Regions from separate parts of the Homo sapiens genome. Here region 1 is linked to region 2. The links are contacts of gene promoters, found by promoter capture Hi-C in blood cells and fetal thymus (Javierre and others, 2016). All regions are on one chromosome and are shown on one strand. Each heading gives the region's core, a stretch centred on a gene start or on the middle of the fragment in contact. The rest is flanking DNA. Distances are from core to core; before and after follow the strand shown.

Region 1 (2,884 bases), core at 252-2,751, 690 kb before region 2:
TGCTACTCCATAGGGATTGTCTAAGAGTGGTTTGAGCCCTTTTTAGGCTTCGGACTTCTGAACTGGTTAACAGGGCGTTCACAAAACAAATGCCCCCTCCTCCTAGAAGCACTTCCCTTAAGGGAAAGATCGTTGGAGCAGATTCTCGAGGTAGTGGGGAAAGGAAAGTTTTGGATATCTTTTTTACACTGTTCTATCTCACGTTGAAGTCTTCCTGGGGAAGGGCATTCAGGCTAGGGAGACCCCAAGTCAGGATTATAAGGGGAAGAAACAAAGTGAGCTGGGGAAGGGTCTGGGGCAGTTGCAGCTACTGGAGGGGGAGGGAAGTTAGTGGTGTTTGGTGGGGGAAGGTGGTCTAAGGGGTCCCACGTGTTGGTTGACTTTTTGGGATGAGGGATATTAATTTCTTGAGAAGAAGTAGCTTCTGGCTTGTCCCCCGTATCCTTTAGGGAACAGAGGACAGGCCCCCACCACCAACACAGGGCATAGTCTATTTCCTCCTGGGAGACAGGACTTTTGTTATTGACATACCCTATTAAAAGCTGACAAATCCAATCCTCACTAGATCGAAACTTTTGGCCAAAAGACTGAAGGTTTGAGGATAGGTTTTTTGGTCCAAATAAAACAGCAATATTTTATCGTTTGTTGCTTTTTCTTGTGTTTGGTCCTTTCATTATCCTTCCAGTATGTTAACATGAGACCTAGAGGGCTATCAGAGGGAATTTTATTGTCTGTCTTATCCTTCTTATTTCCTGTCCTGCTTGAGGTATTTCCCATTCTGGAAGTTTTAGGTGTTTCCCTGAGTTTCCTGAGTCTGTGTGGCTCAACCTCTTTTATGAGAGATTTCTTGCCCCCTTTTCCCTGAAGGTTCAACCCCTCCCCTGCCACTGGAGGTTTCTTGCACTCCCCTACTTTTGTTTCATCCTTCTCCGGCCACTTCCCTTATGGGAATTTGGGTCCCTCTTAGCATTGGCGGGTCGGTATAAGCCTCATGACAGGAAAGCTGCCCTAAGCCATATGAGGTGACCGTGGAACCACAGATCCGGACTGCACACTTGCTTTGCACTCAACTGTGCATCTTATTCACACACTTTCAACCTCCAGGATGTCCTGACCACCAAAGAAGTACTTCACCGCCCCCGCAGCTTTTCTTACCTTGGTGTGTGCAGAGGAGTTACCTGGTCGCCACAGTATTTGTAGGACTTTTCTTCCTTCATTGCTGAGAGTCCAGGTTTATTCGTCACACCAGGTGGGTCTTGATTCCTTATTCCTGAGGCCATTGCAATGAGGCAGCAGGACGCATCTCCTCATGAGAGGTGATCAGAGACCCTTCCCTAGAGGAGAATGGGATGCCAGATGAGCCCCCAAATAGTTGGAAATAAGAGCTCGGAGTTGCAAAGAAAATGAGCTCTCAAAAGACTTCTCAGCAAGGCAAATTTACTTCTGAGAAGGGTGCTGCCTGCAACAGTCATGATCGCAAGAGCACACTGAACAAAGGAGAAAAGTTTTTATCCCTAATGCAGCTTCTGTTTCTGTGTCCTTTCCCCATTGGCTGTAGTCGGACCACACAATGTAAGCTAACCCGATTGGCTAAAACTTGAAATTTTTCCAAATAGGGTAGATGGGGAAGAAGGGGTAGGAGTGGTAAAACTTTTCCAAACAGAGTAAACTGAAACATTTAAATGCGTAACTTGTTGTTTTTTTTTTGTTTTGTTTTTTGTTTTTTTTGAGACTGTCTCTGTTGCCCAGGCTGGAGTGCAGTGGCGCGATCTTGGGTCACTGCAACCTCCACCTCCTGGGTTCACGCCATTCTCCTGCCTCAGCCTCCCAAGTAGCTGGGACTACAGGTGCCCACCACCATGCCCGGCTAATTTTTTGTGTTTTTAGTAGAGACAGGGTTTCACTGTGTTAGCCAGGATGGTCTCAATCTCCTGACCTCATGATCCACCCGCCTTGGCCTCCCAAAGTGCTGGGATTACAAGCGTGAGCCACTGTGCCCAGCCTAAATGCGTAACTTGTAAAGAAAAGAAAGGAGGGGAGGGAGGGATTGTCCGTTAAGGCATGTTTGGGCATGTTTAGGCATGGCAAAGATGGAAAGGCTTGTTTAGAGAACAAGAATGTATCTTCTAGCAATGTGAAATGACATTAGTCGCTAAAAGAAACAAAGAAGTTTGAAGAGGAACTGACTGTTTCTGGCACCAGCTATTTGGGAGGCTGAGGCAGGAGAATTGCTTGAACCTGGGAGGCGGAGGTTGCAGTGAGCCAAGATCATGCCACTGCACTCCAGCCTGGGCGACAGAACAAGACTCTGTCTCAAAAAAAAAAAAAAAAAAAAAAAAAAAAAGAATTACAAGCCAGCACGGTGGCTCATGACTGTAAGCACTTTGGGAGGCCAAGGCAGGCAAATCACTTGAGGTCAGGAGTTTGAGACCAGCTTGCCCAACATGGTGAAACCCCATCTCTACTAAAAAAATATAAACATTAGCTGGACATGGTAGCATGCACCTGTAGTCCCAGCTACTCAGGAGGGTGAGGGTGCAGTGAGCTAAGATCATGCCACTGCACTCCAGCCTGGATGACCGAGTGAGACCCTGTCTAAACCTCGAAAGAATTACACCTTAAGTGATTCTCTTGGTTACCCTACAGTGCCATCACTTTTTGAGGATGAGCATTCACATAGACCTATATGCACTCATACACACAAAGTTCTTGCCAGTTCCAAGACTTGTGCTCTTTCTTGCTAAAGCACTACTCTAAGCTCTTAACTCTCACATGCAATGATGACCAAACCCCACACTCAACACTGAGTTCCTCAACCCTTTGAGCATTTCTCCTGACATGTAAGTAAGTCCTTAATTGTAGAAAATATTAAATGTCCTGCTTT
Region 2 (2,885 bases), core at 129-2,628:
GTCTGACCCTGATACACAAATTATCCACTTCTCATGGGACCAGAGAAATCCCGTAAGAAAGCCTGAAATGTTCCACTATATGAAACAGTCTAAGCAATACACTCACTAGCACCTCCTGGGAGGGTGGGAGTGATGTGACAGAGCTTCTGCTATGAGGGAGCTGCTAGTCTAAATGCGTGCACGCACACATACACACAAACATACGTGGGTAAGTTCAAAGGAGGCAGAAACCATTCCGATCCCAGTTTTGGCTGCAATAAACACTACAACTAACCAGACTAGACAAGTTCAGAAGAGATAGGGAAGGCTTCTGGTGTTCCATCCTCAGGACACTGGGCACCAATAGCCTCTGGGACATTTTGGGGGTCCCCCCACCAGAGCCCCACCTCTGGACTCCCATAAGGTCAAAGGCAGCAGGTCCCTCAAGGACCAGGAGCTTACCCCCTTCTCCACCCCCAGGGGCTTGAAGCTTTAAAGGGAGCATGATCTTTACATTCTGCAAGGAATCCACAGGATCTGAGAAAGGAAAAGGCTAGAGTTGGGGCGGGGGTGTTGAATAAATGGGGAGAGGAGGAAGGCCCGGGTGTCTCGTTGGGCAGATGAGAAATCAGGAAAAGGGCTGACCTGAGCAAAGAACACTGGGATCAGCAGGTAGGGGTTGTGGGGGGGGGGGGGTGGGAGGAGGGAAGCAGAGAGGACCTGGACACCAAATAGAAGAACCAGAATCTTCATTCCTATTGGCACAAGGCAGGAGTCATCCTGGGATACAGGGATGCAGATAGGATCCTTCAAAAGAGATCCGCTGGAAGACGTCAAGGAATACCAGACGGGGACAGAAAGGAAGGTGGTAACATGTGGTGAGAAATAGCGTCCTGAGTGCTAGTTCGGACTCAGTCTCTGACTGGCGTGGGACCCTGGACAAGTCCCGACAGGACTTAATTTTCCCATCCGGAAAATGGGAAGAGCTGAAGAGTCTCGGAGCTGACTCTGAGGAGGCAGACAGCAGAAGGTGGAGGAAGGAACCACAGGCTAAAAGTGAATTCGGGAAGGGGGTGTTCCCGGCCTGTAGCAACGGGGGGACTCACCTGTCCCGCCGCCGGCGCCACCGCCGCCCCCGATCCCCCAGGGGTGCCGTCGGGCTGCCGCTCGCGGTACAGCGCCCAAAGCCCCACGTTGGGCAGGAGGACCAGGGCCGCCAGCACCAGCGCCACCGCCTGCAGGAGCCGCTTCTCCTTCCGCCTCATCGGGGCCGGTCAGCCCCGCCGCGCCCCGCCGGCCCCGCCGCGCCGCCCCCAGCTCCGCGCGTCCGCCCGTCCGCCCGGCGGCGGCAGCAGCTCAGCCAGCAGAAGCGGCTGCGGCGCCGGCCCCGCTCCAACTCCGCGGCACTTCCGCCGCTCGCCGGCCGGGGAGCTGGGCGCCGCCACCACGCCGCCGCCACGAGGGGGTCGTCGCCGCCGCCACCGCCCCCGGGCCCCGCCGAGCCGCCCGCCCCGCGCCGCCTGCCCCCGCGTCGACCGCCGAGTCTCTGCGCTGCAGGCTCGGCCCTCTCACGGAGCGTCTCGGCCCGCCCGGGCGCTGCAGGATGCCGGGCCGGAGCGCTTCCCCCCTCTCGAGCCGCGATGGTCCGTCCCACTCCTCGGCGGCTCCCCCGCCCTCTGGAGCTTTGCGAAAGTCCCGGAGTTGGCGAGTTGGGCGCTAACTGGTGCGGGCTGGGCACCGCTGGGTGGGGTGCATGTCCGCTCGCCCGGGTACCCTGCCGCCCCGCCCGGCAACCTCCGCCCGGGACTGCAGCCGAACCTTTGCTGCCTCCCTGGGGATATGCAAATAGTGCTGGGGCCCCGCCGGGCGTTCTGAGCCTGGAGCCCCCGGGGCTGTCACTTCCAGCCCACCTAGGCTCGGCCCCCAGGACCTGCGGACCTACTTTGACCCCGGCGACTCGGTGTTCCCGGCCATGAAACGGGGCCACAGCCGTGCTGCACGCTCACTGTTCCGCGGGCGGGCCCTGGTTTTCTTCCTCTAGGGGGGCCCTGGCGTTAGGTGTGAACGCCCTCTGCAAACTGTAGGGAGCTGTGCCCGGCCGCCGCCCGTCTGTAGATCCTGCAAACCGGCGGGTGGGTAAGTGACGGTAGCCTCTCTGCAGCACCTTTCCTCACGCAAGTCCAACCCCCTTGGAGTTAGAATGCCCTGCATTCTCACGCGTGCTTTTGGATCCTAAGCGCACTGAGCCCTTCCCGGAAAGCTCTCAGCAAACCGTTGGCGAGCGCCACTATGTGCCAAACACTGTGCCAGGCTCTGGGATGAAATGAAAACAGACCTGAGCCCTGACGTCTGGGAGCTGAAACATGAAACACGTAATTTCACTAGACCAGGCAATGTGTCTGTAACTGTGGCGAGGGCTTTGACAGAGGAGTCGGGCTTCTGGGCGATGCGGAGGGCCGTGGAGCCGGACTCCGACGGTGATGCCAGCCAGCGGCTCCTCCTCGGGGCGCTCGACGCTGGTCACTTAGCTGCCTCCTCCCTGATGCGGTGGAACGGAGCACCCCCTTGGCTACCTTACTCTCTGCCACCCCCACATTCGTCCTCTTGATTCTCTGCTTCTCTAGCTCAGCCGCTGACCTTCGTGCCTAGCTGCCACTAGTCCTTGACCAGCGTTCTGGCAACTCTTGCCTCCAAGTTCTTCCAGCTCCAGGCTGAGCGATGGGGATTCAGTTTTCTGACATCACAGCTCAGTTCTTGATTTCTGCAGCAAAACCTTCAAGGCTTCCATCACCTCGGCTCTAGAGTCCATCATGCTCCTCTCCTATGACCTGCTAGGGCTGATCAAACGTTCTGTCTCCTGCCGTGCCCTGCCCTGCCCTGCCCTGAGCTTCGCTTAGCCTGTTGCA

The links. The method cuts DNA at HindIII sites, captures the fragments that hold promoters and counts their contacts. A CHiCAGO score of 5 or more calls a contact.
Region 1: a fragment that was not itself captured here is called in contact with the fragment with the promoter of GALNT10 in region 2 in 1 of 17 cell types (total B cells); the score reaches 6.4 in total B cells.

The regions. Positions count from the first base shown.
Region 1 is chr5:154,877,364-154,880,247 of GRCh38, reverse strand. It overlaps LOC124901119 (a long non-coding RNA gene), which reads right to left and starts at 1,489. Exons shown (of 2, transcript XR_007059011.1): 1 at 1,156-1,489. The HindIII fragment of the contact is 3,573 bases long and covers 1-2,884 here.
Region 2 is chr5:154,189,226-154,192,110 of GRCh38, reverse strand. GALNT10 (polypeptide N-acetylgalactosaminyltransferase 10) reads right to left here and starts at 1,378. Exons shown (of 12, transcript NM_198321.4): 1 at 1,086-1,378. The coding sequence starts at 1,244. LOC124901118 (a long non-coding RNA gene) reads left to right here and starts at 2,032. Exons shown (of 2, transcript XR_007059010.1): 1 at 2,032-2,115. RefSeq lists silencers at 1,083-1,142, 1,213-1,292, 1,383-1,492, 1,503-1,602, 1,693-1,782 and an enhancer at 2,003-2,885. The HindIII fragment of the contact is 10,101 bases long and covers 472-2,885 here.